Regions from separate parts of the Homo sapiens genome. Here all the other regions are linked to region 1. The links are contacts of gene promoters, found by promoter capture Hi-C in blood cells and fetal thymus (Javierre and others, 2016). All regions are on one chromosome and are shown on one strand. Each heading gives the region's core, a stretch centred on a gene start or on the middle of the fragment in contact. The rest is flanking DNA. Distances are from core to core; before and after follow the strand shown. Region 1 holds the start of UTP25 (UTP25 small subunit processome component). Region 2 overlaps RCOR3 (REST corepressor 3). Region 3 has its middle 8.8 kb from the start of TRAF5. Region 4 overlaps RCOR3 (REST corepressor 3). Region 5 overlaps TRAF5 (TNF receptor associated factor 5).

Evidence for each region. Contacts are between HindIII fragments. The CHiCAGO score rates a contact against its expected background, and 5 or more counts as called.
Region 2: a fragment that was not itself captured here is called in contact with the fragment with the promoter of UTP25 in region 1 in 5 of 17 cell types (naive CD8 T cells, naive CD4 T cells, activated CD4 T cells and 2 more); the score reaches 7.8 in naive CD8 T cells.
Region 3: a fragment that was not itself captured here is called in contact with the fragment with the promoter of UTP25 in region 1 in 5 of 17 cell types (activated CD4 T cells, total B cells, total CD4 T cells and 2 more); the score reaches 10.0 in activated CD4 T cells.
Region 4: a fragment that was not itself captured here is called in contact with the fragment with the promoter of UTP25 in region 1 in 4 of 17 cell types (total CD8 T cells, naive B cells, non-activated CD4 T cells and 1 more); the score reaches 7.7 in total CD8 T cells.
Region 5: a fragment that was not itself captured here is called in contact with the fragment with the promoter of UTP25 in region 1 in 1 of 17 cell types (total B cells); the score reaches 8.7 in total B cells.

Annotation. Positions count from the first base shown.
Region 1 is chr1:209,826,642-209,829,341 of GRCh38, reverse strand. UTP25 (UTP25 small subunit processome component) reads right to left here and starts at 1,370. Exons shown (of 12, transcript NM_014388.7): 1 at 1,172-1,370. The coding sequence starts at 1,278. RefSeq lists an enhancer at 1,281-1,330. The HindIII fragment of the contact is 3,327 bases long and covers 1-2,451 here.
Region 2 is chr1:211,266,736-211,269,435 of GRCh38, reverse strand. The region is part of intron 2 of RCOR3 (REST corepressor 3); the gene reads right to left. Among named protein-coding and RNA genes, the nearest start is that of RCOR3, 8.7 kb to the right of the region's middle. The HindIII fragment of the contact is 5,534 bases long and covers 1-2,700 here.
Region 3 is chr1:211,316,703-211,319,402 of GRCh38, reverse strand. No RefSeq gene overlaps it. Among named protein-coding and RNA genes, the nearest start is that of TRAF5, 8.8 kb to the left of the region's middle. The HindIII fragment of the contact is 3,259 bases long and covers 1-2,700 here.
Region 4 is chr1:211,289,692-211,292,391 of GRCh38, reverse strand. All of the region lies in intron 8 of RCOR3 (REST corepressor 3), which reads right to left. Among named protein-coding and RNA genes, the nearest start is that of RCOR3, 32 kb to the right of the region's middle. The HindIII fragment of the contact is 2,888 bases long and covers 1-2,700 here.
Region 5 is chr1:211,340,700-211,343,399 of GRCh38, reverse strand. All of the region lies in intron 1 of TRAF5 (TNF receptor associated factor 5), which reads right to left. Among named protein-coding and RNA genes, the nearest start is that of TRAF5, 15 kb to the right of the region's middle. The HindIII fragment of the contact is 1,214 bases long and covers 649-1,862 here.

The DNA.
Region 1 (2,700 bases), core at 121-2,620:
GATCAATGATGTCCCAACAAATTCTTTAAAAACACACACAACATATGATGTGACTATAACTAACAATTTATTGTATATTTTCAAATGGCTAGAAGAGCGGATTTTCAATGTTCCCAACGCAAAGAATTGATGTTTGAGATGATGAATATGCTAATTACCCGGATTTGATCATTACACATTGGGTACATGTATTGTTATCAAAATATCACACTGTATCCCACAAATATGTACAATCATTTTATGTAAGTTAAAAATAATTATAAAAACAGGCCAAGCGCGGTGGTTCACGCCTGTAATTCCAGCACTTTGGGAGGCCAAGGCGGGCAGATCACCCGAGGTCAGTAGTTCGAGACCACCCTAGCTAACATGGTGAAACCCCGTCTCAACTAAAAATACAAAAAATTGATCGGGTGTGATGGCGGGCGCCTGTAATCCCAGCTACACGGGAAGCTGAGGCAGGAGAATCGCTTAAGCCCGGGAGACGGAGGTTGCAGTGAGCTGAGATCGCGCCACTGCACTCCAGCCTGGGCGACAAAGCGAGACTCTGTCTTAAAAAAAAAAAATTATATATATACATATATATATGTGTGTCTACAAAAAATTCCTAGATCTCTGACCACACAAAAATCCGCCCCCATAGCTGGGCGCGGTGGCTCACGCCTGTAATCCCAGCACTTTGGGAGGCCGAGGTGGGTGGATCACCTGAGGTCAGGAGTTCAAGACCAGCCTGGCCAACATGGTGAAACCCCATCTCTACTAAAAATACAAAAAATCAGCCGGGCTTGGTGGCGGGCGCCTGTAATCCCAGCTACACGGGAGGCTGAGGCAGGAGCATCGCTTGAACCCGGGAGGAGACAGAGGTTGCAGTGAGCCAAGATCGCGCCATTGCACTCCAGCCTGGGCGACAGAGCGAAACACCGTCTTAAAAAAAAAAAAAAAATCCTCCCCCACACAACGGGCGTGCCTCTTAGCAGGAAATTACAGGCTCAACAAAAAGGCCCGTGAAGCACTCCATCTCCCGGCGGGATGGCGCCAGAATCTCCCCGGCCGAGCACAGCGGGAGCCAGGGAATAGTGGGAAAAGGCCGGAGCAGCACTATCTGGGAGACCAGAGGACCAAACTCGAGGATACATCTCTGGCGACTGGGGAGCCCTGCCACGCCCCTTCAGACCTGTCATAGAAGGGATGCTCCTCGCCGAAATCTCGAAGATGTTTCTTCTGCTTTTTAGTTAGGGTGTTGAGTAGCTGGCTCTGGCTCCGGCTCCCGCGTTTGCCCATAGCGAAAACGTCAAGTTTGCCCACTTGCAAGAGTCGCGGTTTTCCACCAGGAAGTTGTCCAGTCAACACAAGCACGTGGGCTCGCTGACTGCGCTTTACGGCGAAAGCAAGGTGCCATAAAGCAGATCCGCTTTACGTCGCGCTCGTACGACAGGCTTAGAACATCCGGTTCCCGGTTCTGCCCCCTACCGCAGCTCTTTGAAAGCACGGGAGTTCGTTCACTAGTGTTCTCAGAGCCCTAGAACGTGGGCAGCTGGGCTTCCCGGGTTGCGTGAGTCGGGGGCATGAGCTTTGTGCTTGTGTTTTGGTTATGGAAATCAGTCTGCGTAAATGTGTAGTAGCGGAGATAGTCGAATGCAGTGACTTTACAGTATACTGCAATAAAAATATCAACCAACATTTAAGGGTGCCTGAACATCTCACTTCATCACCACAACAGTGTACAGATAGGTCTTGTTAATAAGCCTGGTGTTGCAGATAAGGAAACTGATGCTTAGAAAAGATAACACGCTAGCGGCCGGGCGCGGTGGCTCACGCCTGTAATCTCAACACTTTGGGAGGCCGAGATGGGCGGATCACCTGAGGTCAGGAGTTCGAGACCAGCATGGCCAAACATGGTGAAACCCCGTCTCTACTAAAAGTACAAAAATCAGCCGGGCGTGGTAGCGGGCGCCTGTAATCCCAGCTACTCAGGAGGTGAGGCAGGAGAATCGCTGGAACCCGGGAGGTGGAGGTTGCAATGAGCCGAGATCACTCCACTGCACTCCAGCCTACTCCAGCCTGGGCGACAAAAGCTAGACTCCATCTCGAAAAAAAAAAAAAAGAAGAAAAGAAAAGAAAAGATAACACGCTAGCAAGAGAAGAGAGAAAAACCTTAACTGATGCAACCACATGCTTTTACCCATTAGGGTCTGCCGCCTGTGTGTGTTATATCAATCATGGGGCCCACAAGTCTGAGATTCCCACCCTCACCCTATTCTCGCATTTTCTGAAAGTATTGGAAGAGTCCCCGCAAACAAATCTGTTCCAGCATTCCCCATTTAACAACAGCAGAAACACATCTAGAGAGGTAAAGTGACTTTACTGAAATCACCCCAGTCAATGCTAGAAAAGGCTGTGAAACCCAATCCAGTGTCTCATAACTGAACTCGGACAAAAGGGGATGGAAAAGCTTTTGAAGGTAAAGGAACCATCTTACATTTTGATCATGCTAGTAGTTACACCTTGTATACATAAGAAAAGTTAAACTGTACAGTTAAAATGGGTGAATTTTAATGTATTTAAATAACACCTAAATAAACAGGAAAAAGCAAAAATATAAAAGTAGACTCAGTATTCTAGGGATTTGCAAGTGTGCAGGGCTGCTTGAGACCACAGGATAAAGATGGTGAGATCCTTTTCCTAATAGTAACTTATGCTACC
Region 2 (2,700 bases), core at 103-2,602, 1.4 Mb before region 1:
TTAGTAGAGACAGGGTTTCATCATGTTGGCCAGGCTGGTCTTGAACTCCTGACCTCGTGATCCGCCTGCCTCAGCCTCCCAAAGTGCTGGGATTACAGGAACACGCCACCATGCTTGGCTAACTTTGTATTTTTAGTAGAGACAAGGTTTCTCCATGTTGGTCAGGCTAGTCTCGAACTCCCAACCTCAGATGATCCACCCGCCTCAGCCTCCCAAAGTGCTGGGATGACAGGTGTTAGCCACTGCACCCGGCTCATAAATGACTTTTATGTGGTACCGATAATTACCATTAATAGCCAGAATTCCAAAATTACTGACATATTAAAATAATTCCGAGGTTAAACTGTAATCCTTTATAAAGTTATAAGATACTTGGAATGAAGAACATTCATTTCTAGGGGTCAGAGAACTACTACTATAATCTCCAGCTAGAGAAGTTATCTATCAGGCAATAATATAATATCATTAAATATTTTTATTTTTAGAGAAGCATCATATATCATTACTGATCAACAAATTTTAGTTAAAAAATCATACATTGCTATAAAATATAAATTTATCTTAAAATTCTATGTATGTTATAAGGAAAATTAAGAAGAAAAGAGAACTGAAAGAAGAAACACTACCAAAGTATTCGAAAGCCTTTTGTATTTTGTCATATCTTTAATAAAAAAGGACACAAAAGCATGAGCTGAGAATTTAGGAAAATGCCAAATTAAGGTTCATTATGAAAAAATTTATATTCAATGAAAATAAACTGGCCAGGCCCTGTGGCTCAAGTCTATAATCCCAGCACTTTGAGAGGCCGAGGTGGACGGATCACCTGAGGTCGGGAGTTCGAGACCAGCATGACCAACATGGAGAAACCTCATCTCTATTAAAAATACAATTAGCCGGGTGTGGTGGCGCATGCCTGTAATCCCAGCTACTCAAGAGGCTGAGGCAGGATAATCACTTGAACCTGGGAGGCGGAGGTTGCGGTGAGCCGAGATCACACCATTGCACTCCAGCCTGGGCAACAAGAGCGAAACTCCATCTCAAAAAAAAAAAAAAAAAAAAAAAAAAAGAAAGAAAAGAAACTTTGATATATCTTTTTAAAACTTCAATATTAAGATACATATTTAAGTTTTAACCCTGTAAAATAAAAATATAAACACAAAATAGCCAACCCACTCAATGGTAATAAAACAAAAATCCTATTTAAGTTGGTCAGAAGCCTTTACTTAATTCATAAAATCTAATGTTATATAAAGTGAATATCCTAAACTTCAATCCTTTAACATGGAACTGATTATTCTGCACAATGGTCATGACAATAAGATCATTTAAATCCTACTTAATAGAACACGAAATGCAACAAAGAAAGTTTTCCATTAAGTCCCAAGTCTTAACGGCATATCATGCTAAATATTTAAACATAATTTCCCTGCATCTCATTCTTGCCTTACAGAAAGTCTGAATTAAAATATCTTCATTAAATGTCCCTTCTCAAAGAGATATTAAACTTTTTTTAAATTTTTCCCCATAAAAGGTAACAGCTACAGGCTGGGTGCAGTGGCTCTTACCTATAATCCCAGCACTTTGGGAGGCCAAGGAGGGCGGATGGCTTGAGCCCCGGAGTTTGAGACCAGCCTGGGAAACATAGCAAGACCTTGTCTCTACTAAAAACACAAAAAATTAGCTGGATGTGATCGTGTGCACCTGTAGTCCCAACTACTCAAGAGGCTGAGGTGGGAGGATCGCCTGAGCCCAGGAGTTCAAGGCTGCAGTGAGCCATGACCACACTACTGCACTCCAGCCTGGGCAACAGAGCAAGACCCTGTCTCAATAAATAAATAAATAAGTTTCAAAAACATTATTAGCATTGTAATTAAGGGCCCCATCTGACAGAAACTGGTATCCAAGTTGTGGGAACTAACAGCTCTTCCAATATCGGTGAGCAGGTAGATAGAGGAGCAGCATACATAGAGCAATCCTGATAGCAGAGAATGCCTAATTAAGCATTTCGCAATTTTCCTTCCCTAACTCTGAACTGGACTCTACTATTTTCAATTATATATGTGTCAACTAGGCCCAAGAGATGACTGATACAGGAAGTAAGGGATATTTCAGTGCAATGGTTAAGAATATGAACTACGAAGCCCAACTCCCAGAGTCTGAATACCAGCTCTGCTACTTGGTAGCTGTGTCACCTTGGATAAATCTATTTAATCTGTCTGTGCCTCAGTTTTCCTTCTCTCTAAAAATATGGATGATGAAAGTACCTACCTGACAGAGTTGCTCAAAAATTAAATGAATTAATGTAAGTACGTGGCATATGGTAAGCATTACCTAAGACTTAATTATTACTAGTATATGCTTATTGAAGACAGTTCTTTCTTAAGTTCCTTCCTTCTTTATCCTAAAAAGGCTTCTTCTCACCTTATCAACTACAAAATAAATGAATAAATCCTCAAGGGGCTGTATCTCAAAAACGGCTGATGTCCTCTCTCACCAACCCCTTGAAAATGAAATTGAATAGCTGTAAATGACCCATTATGTTTTTCTCACAATTCAGACGTGATTCCTTTCCTATAAAACAGGAGAAAGTAACATGTGCTATTAAAAATAACTTATCTACCTCTTGGGACACTTTGTGTCCAATAAGTTTTACCTTTTTCATTGTAAAAGTCAGAATGAACTAAAACATTGAACAGACAT
Region 3 (2,700 bases), core at 191-2,690, 1.5 Mb before region 1:
ATCCTGAGGGGAAGCATTCCTAGTTTTCTAAGTTTTAATCATGAATAGGTGTTGGATTTTGTCAAATATCTTTTCTGTGTCTATCAACATAATCATATGGCTTTTTTCCTTTATTTTATTAATATGATATATTGCAATGATTCTCAACTGGAGGTGATTTTGCTCCTTATGGGACATTTGACCATGTCTGGAGACATTTTTGATTCTCAAACTGGGGAAGGGGGTTCTACTGGTATCTGGTGGGTAGAGGCTGAGGATGCTGTTCAACATTCTAAATGCACAAAAAAGAATTATCTAACCTAAAATGTCAGTAGTGCTGATATTGAGCAATATTTCATGTGCACATGGAAACAATGTTTATTCTGCTGTTGGGTAGAATGATCCCACATTTCAACTAGGTAAAGGTGTGTTATTCAAGTCATAGGCTGCAATCAAGCTGTTAGCTGGGTTCTGGTCATCTCAAGACCCAACTGGGGAAGGATCCATTTTCAAGTGCACATGGATGTTGGCAGGATTCAGTTCCTGGCAGGTTGTTGAACTGAAGGCCTGAGTTCTTTGCTGGCTGTTAGCAAAAGGCTGGCTTCAGCTCTTTGTCACATTAGAGGTTCCTTAATTCTGCTGGCTTTTGTCATAAATGTATCCCCATCTGCTGGTAGCTCCTCCTCTGGCTTCCTAGCACTGCTAAGGGTTATTTTGGTTTTTCTATTTCTTGTCATTTCAGTAAGACTGGCAGGGGGAGATTATGGGTAAGAAAAGTAAAAGACTATGTCCAGTCTGTCATCTTGAACTGAAATTAATCTCTCATTTTTGCACTGCACTTTAATTTTTTTAAAAAAATGAGCTGAGATTGCGCCATTGCACTCCAGCCTGGGTGACAGAACGAGACTCTGTCCAAAAAAAAAAAAAAAAGTCACAATACATTTCCCTTATTAAGAAGGGTATGGTATAAGTAGACATGTAAAAACCTCTAACATACATTGGGCAGGTACTATATGCCCCAGTTTATATATTCCTCCCCAAATGAGGAAAATGAGGCTCACAGAGATTAAGTAACTTGCTTAGTGGAGTTGGAAAACTCATTGTGTTAAAGGTTGGTGGGCAATTATTTTGCAAATATAGGCCACAAGCCCTCAATGATTCTGATTATTTTCAAACTCTTTTGGAAAAGATGAAGAGGCAGGATATCAACAAAATGGTCTTTGGATTAAAGGCCTCTTCAAGCCAAATCCTGTCAAATAAGAAAGCTGTTCCAGGTAGTAAACTAGACAGATCCCTCAAGAGATACCTTGTGTTGTGGTATTATTCAGCATCTTCTTAGTTATTGGTAACTGTACCTTACAAATAAGATTAAATTGTACAGAATAAAAATTTCACCTTTCTTAAAATAGTCCAAGGGAAGGAAACATATGAAGCATTCTGTGACATCAACTTTGACCTCATTTACATTGTGAAGACTGTTCTTAGATCTCTCCACTTCACATCACCAGCATTTTTTCCTTAGAGACCCTGCTCACCCAGATTCCTGCTTTAGGATTCTAAAGTTTAGATTACTGCATTGTAAAGACTGTTCCGTTTATTAATAAACAATTGTCTACTTTAAACCAAGTAATGACAATTGGCAAACATCTCAACCCAATATTAACTTCTGATCTTCACTGTTTCTCCCTTAGCTATATAGACTTAGGAGAGCAAAAAAGGGCAGATAAAGCCACATGGCCCTTTAGACACAAACTCACACATCTAGGAGCATTCCTTGTCATGTTTAATTCTCAAACTCCATTGTCACTAATATACTGCTGCAGAACATTCCTTCCCTAAGGCAGTTATGATAAAGAAGTTGTGGGGAGTTACACATGACCTACTCTTTCCTAGGTGAAAACAGTTCAGGTACTACCATAAATCAGATGTCAAAAGTTTCTTGTAGGCATTTTCTAATATGGAATGGTTTCTCAAACTTGATTCTTGGGTTCTTTCCGTATTCATTTATTCTGTTATTTTCTTATAAACGATGTAATCTATAATGAATGGCTAAATTTAAAAACACTTTTTTTCTTGTGTGTCCTCTAATAAGAATGTATTTGTCATTTATTTTGGGCATGCACAAAGAGAAAGATAGATTCTTCTTAGAGTTCGAAGTCAGATTACTATTCTTTTTGAGGAGATCCTGACACCCCAGTGTTAACTAGTTAGCAGTTATTAATGTTCATAAATAACCTTTTGATAACAGGAGGGAACATAAAATTAATACAACATACTTAATAACTAAACTAGGTACTTTAACCCAAGTACAGTCATGCACCACACAATATTTCGGTCAGTGACTGCAAATACACTGATGTTCTTTAAAATTATAACATCAGCAGGAAGCAGTGGCTCATACCTGTAATCCCAGCACTTTGGGAGGCCAAGACAGGTGGATCACCTGAGACCAGGACTTCAAGATCAGCCCGACCAACACGGTGGAACCCCATCTCTACTAAAAAATACAAAACTTAGCCAGGTGTGGTGGCGGGCGCCTGTAATCCCAGACACTCAGGAGGCTGAGACAGGAGAACTGCTTGAGCCTGGGAGGCAAAGGTTGCTGAGCCAAGATCCCGCCACTGCACTCCAGCCTGTGCGACAGAGTGAGAACCTGTCTCAAAAAATAAATATATAAAATATTGTATTTTTACTATACCTTTTCTATGTTTAGATACACAG
Region 4 (2,700 bases), core at 66-2,565, 1.5 Mb before region 1:
TACAGCAAATGATTTAGAAGTTTTCTAAAGAGGATTGCTGTGGTTTGGAAGTTAGGCATCTTGCATTCATAGTTTGACTAAAGGCTAAGCATTTAACCAAATATGAGATGCGTTGGTGGTATAGTGGTGAGGATAGCTGCCTTCTAAATATGTACTATAAACACACATACTCCAGAGAGTCACAAAGTCAAGTGAAAGAAATTCCAAAAAGAAAGACATGGCTGACAGTGTCAAACATTACTGAGTAGTCAAAGGAGCTAAAAACCAGGAAGGCAGCATTAGATGTTGGCCACTTGTTCATAAGTGATTTTTTTTTTCTACTGTAAACCTTGAACTCCTAGGCTCAGGCGATCCTCTCTCCTCAGACTCTCTTGTGTTGCTAGGACTACACTACAGATACACACAACCACGTTTGGCTATTTTTAAAATTTTTTTTATAGAGATGAAGTCTCACTATGTTGCTCAGGCTGGTGTCAAACTCCTGGCCTCAAGTGATGTTCCTGTCTTGGCCTCCCAAAGTGTTGGGATTACAGGCATGAGCCACCATGTCAGCCCATAAATGATCTTCGGAGAGGTGTTTCAGTAGAACTGGAATACCATACGGGGCAGAAGCTAGATTAGAAAGGGTTGGAGAATAAGTTTTGGTAAGAAAGCAGAGGAAGCAAATGTGGCCTATGTTAGAGAACCAGAAAAGCAGTTTGGGTGAATAACCAGGACCAAGGAATAGAAAAATCTGAACATGTTTAAGATAGAGAATCTTGATCCCACACTATACTGTTGCAAGGTTCTTACATTTTGTAAGCAGAATATAGTAGTCCTCCCATATCCGCAGGGGATACAGTCCAAAACTCCCAGTGGATGCCTGAAACTGTGGATAGTACCAAATCAAAACATATCCAGGTTGAGTATTCCCTTATCCAAAATGCTTGGAACCAGAAGTGTTTCAAATTTCAGGGGATTTTGGGATATTTGCATAATATATACCAGTTGTACATCCCTAATCCGAAAACCCAAAATCCAAAATGCTCCAATGACCATTTCCTTTGAGCATTATGTCAGTGCTCAAAAAGTTTCAAATTTTGGAGCATTTCAGATTTTCAGATTAGGGATGCTCAACCTGTACTGTTTTTCCCTATATATACATACCTGTGATAAAGTTTAGTTTATAAATTAGGCACAATAGAGAATAACAATAGCTAATTAAAAATAGAAAAATTATAACAATATACTGTAATAAAAGCTATGTGAATATAGTCTGTTTCTCAAAATATCTTATTGTACTGTACTGCAAGTAACTGAAACCATGGAAAGTGAAACTACGGATTAAGGGAGGACTACTGTAATATTAACTAAATATGCAGTGATAAGCTAAGGATGAATATTGTAATCACTAAAGCAACTATAAAAGCAAAAAAAAAACCAAACAAACAAACAAGAAAATGCAAAAGATATAGCTGGAAAATGTAAATATGACCATGGTCCACCTTTCCTTAAAGTCCTTCAGCAGTTTCCTAACTCAGGATGAATTTCAAATTTCTTAACATGATTTTCTTATAAATCCCTGTCTACCTCTACTGTAACCTGCTAAAGGCAAGTAGAAACTAACAAAGAGCTTTAAGATGAGTGACAGTGATCAGACCAGTGCTTTAAAAAGATAACACTGGCAACAATGTGTAACCTCCAGCTAAAGAGAAGTAATAGAAAGAATCAACAAGAGGCCGAGCGTGGTGGCTCATGCCTATAATCCCAGCACTTTGAGGGGCAGGCAGGAAGATTGCTTGAGCCCAGGAGTTTGAGACAAGCCTGGGTAACATAGCAAGAACGTTTCTCTACAAAAAATTAAAATAAAAAAAATGAGGAGAAAAAAAGAATCCACAAGATAGTTATTGTCAGGCAAGCGATAGCAAGAGCCTAAATGGGCAGTAGTGATGAGATAAAAAAGAGGGAATTGATTTAAAGGAAATTTCAGAGACAAAACTCACATAACTTGGTTACCACTTTGGTTTACATGTGTTGGGAAAGGGATAACAGCAGGGGATGAATAAAAGATGATTCTGATGTTTCAACAGACAGGAAACAGAGAAAAAAATCTTTTGGGGAAGACCTAGCAGGCAGCTGGAACTATAGCTAAGGAGCTTGAGAAAAGCCACAGCTTGAGAAATAAGATTCAGAAGTCACTGGCATAGGTATAGGGTTGGTTGATATAGACCAAGAAAGTACAGATTTAGAAGAATATCTAGATTTAAGGGATAAGAAAAAAATAACAAAACAGACAAAAAATAGGAAAAGACAACTAAGAAAGGCCAGAGATCTAATAGCAACGAATAACTGAGCTTAATATGCGCCAGGCACTGTTTTAAGCACTTACCATATATTATCTTGTTTAATTCCTCTCAACCACTATACTATTATCCACATTTCCAGATGAGAAAACTGAGGCTGAAAGAAGTTAAAGAGCTCCTCTAAGGTTACACAGGAAGAGATGGTATAGCCAGGGTTAGAACTTAACAGGTTCACTGACTCTAGATGCTGATTTTTAACTACTATCTGATTATGATGATGCTGCCCTTACAATACTACTAGTACTACTACTGATAATGATGATGATGATGATGAAGACAACAACCATCACTCACTGAGCACTCAAAATGTGCCAAGCACTACTAAACAATCTACATGTATCACTGCAAATAATTCCCA
Region 5 (2,700 bases), core at 6-2,505, 1.5 Mb before region 1:
AAATGGAGGCCTAGTGAGCTCCTACTGCCAGGTAGTGGTGGAGGCCCTCAGGGGATGAAGAGCTGGGGTTCCTCCCTGCCCCTCCAAGGTTCCAAGAGTCAGCATGGCATGACAATTACCAGCATGAACTCTGGAGTAGACTTGCCTGGATTCATATCCTGCCCATACCCCTTCATAGCCACGTGACCTCAGGCAAATTACTTAGTCGCTATGTTTCTCCGTTTCCTCATCTGTAAAACGATGATAATGAAATGCTGGACAGGACATGGAGTAAAGGGAACCCTCATACACTGTTGGTAGGAATGTAAATTAGTACAGCCACTATGAAGAACGGTATGGAGGTTCCTCAGAAAACTAAACACAGAACTACATATGATCCAGCAATCCCACTGCTAGGTATATATTCAAAAGAAAGGAAATCAGAATATTGAAGACACATCTGCCCTCTCATGTTTACTGCAACACTGAAGAACCAAGATCTGGAAGCAACCTAAGCATCTATCAACAGATGAATGGATACAGAACATGTGGTACCTATACACAATATTCAGTCATAGAAAAGAACAAGATCCTATCACTTGCAACAACATAGATGGAACTAGAGGACATTATGTTAAGTGAAATAAGCCAGGCACAGAAAGACAAGCTTCACATGTTCTTGTTTGTGGGAGCTAAAAATTAAAACAATTGAACTTATGGAGACAGAGAGTAGAAGGATGGTTACTAGAGGCTGGGAAGGGTAGTTGTGGGGTGGGGGAAGTGTTGGGTAGAGGAAGTGGGGATGATTAATGAGTACAAAAATATAGTCAGAATAATCGTATAGAATACAATCTAGTATTTGATAACAGGGTGACTATAGTCAACAATAATTTATTGTACATTTAAAAATAACTAAAAGAATTGGGATGATTGTAACACAAAGAAATGATACATGCTTGAGATAATGGATACCCCATTTACCCTGATGTGATTATTATGCATTGTATGCCCATATCAAAATATCTCATGTAGCCAATATACACCTAATACACACCCATAAAAATAAAAAAGTAGGACTTATCACAATTCAAAAAAAAGAAAAATATATCAAAAAACAAAATAAAATGGTGATAATAACAGTAGTTACCACATAGAACTTCTTAAGATTAAATACGTCAATACTATATACATCAGGGGTTGGCCCATCACATGTTTTGTAAATAAAGTTTTATTAGAACACAGCCATGTTCATTCATTTACATATTGTCTATGGTTGTTTATGTGCTACCACAGAGGAGCTGAGCAGTTGCCCCACAGACCATATGGCCCACAAGGCCTCAAATACACAGTTACTACCTGGTTCTTTACAGAAGAAGTTTGCTGACCCCTCTATGCATGAAGAACTTATAGTGGTAGTACACAGAGGTGTCATAAGGGCTATTATTAATAAGCACTTGCCCCTGAGTCTCTCCATCAATGTCCCCCACTCTGAGATAACCTGACTGCCTGACATGCTATTTGCCTTCTCATTTCACCCAATTTTGAATTCATGGTTACACTGGACTATCTCGCGCTAAACATTTATTGATTCAGTCACTTTTTGTAAATCATTTCTTTGCTGGGAACCTACCATAGGCAGACACTGATGAGGAAACAAAAATGCAGCACATGGGCCCAAATTCCCCACCCCCTGGAGCTCTGGCCCATTCTCCATCCTCAGCCCGGCAATGCCCCATCAACCTCTTTCTCCCCTCTCTCCTTCCCATTCCCAGCTCCAGAGCAATGCCCGATGGAAACACACCTTCCAGGTGGCACCCACAGACCTGTGTCCTTTATCAGATCCCATCAGTGCCTCTCTGAAGCCTCCCTGGCCCTCCCAAGCTTATCTGTACTCTACCTGGAATAAGTCGGCAGGCCCAAATCATCTGGGCATGTGGTATATGAGGCCATATACAGCCTGGGAAAGCATATTATGTTAGTTTGATGATCTAAACTGTAATCACATCATCACATTTGCTGACTAGTCTCTCCTAAATCACTGCCCTCCTGCCCTTTATGTGACATTTGGCACTTCCTTCTTGAAACTCCCTGATCCCTTGGCCCTAGGGTTCTGTGTTTGTTGGTTCTCCTCCCAGCTCTGAACCACACCTCTTGGTGGCTCCTTGTCAGCATTCCACTCCTGCAGGGTTCCCCAAAGCTAGGTCAGCCTTCTGCCCTTTGTTCTTGACTCAGCTCAAGAACTTCTCCTCATTGGAAAGGCTTCTCCTCATTGGAAAGGCTACCTACTGCCACCTCAACTACATTCCCAAATGGGGGTGGGTGTGCCCACTGCATGGAGCTATGGGGCTGTCATCTCAGACTCACACTTCTCTCCCCCTTCCCCCTTCCTGACCATCCTCCTTGCTTACAAAGAAGGTACAAAGAGGCCAGGCGCGGTGGCTCACTGTTGGGGTGATCAGACCCAGCACCAGGTCGTGGGGGTGACAAAGTCCAGCAGAGTCAAAGGACTGAGAAAAAGACAGTTTGAGAGATAAAGGTGGGACACCAGAGGGCCATCGCGATTGTGGAGGCTGCGAAGACCGCCAGCTCTGGGAGCCCACGCTACTTATTGGTAATCCAACAGAGAAACAGGTGGTAAGAATGTGGAGGTCAAAAGGACACGTTGCATTAAGCACATGATTTACAGCTGTGATGGTTTAGCATTTATATGGAACATGTTCT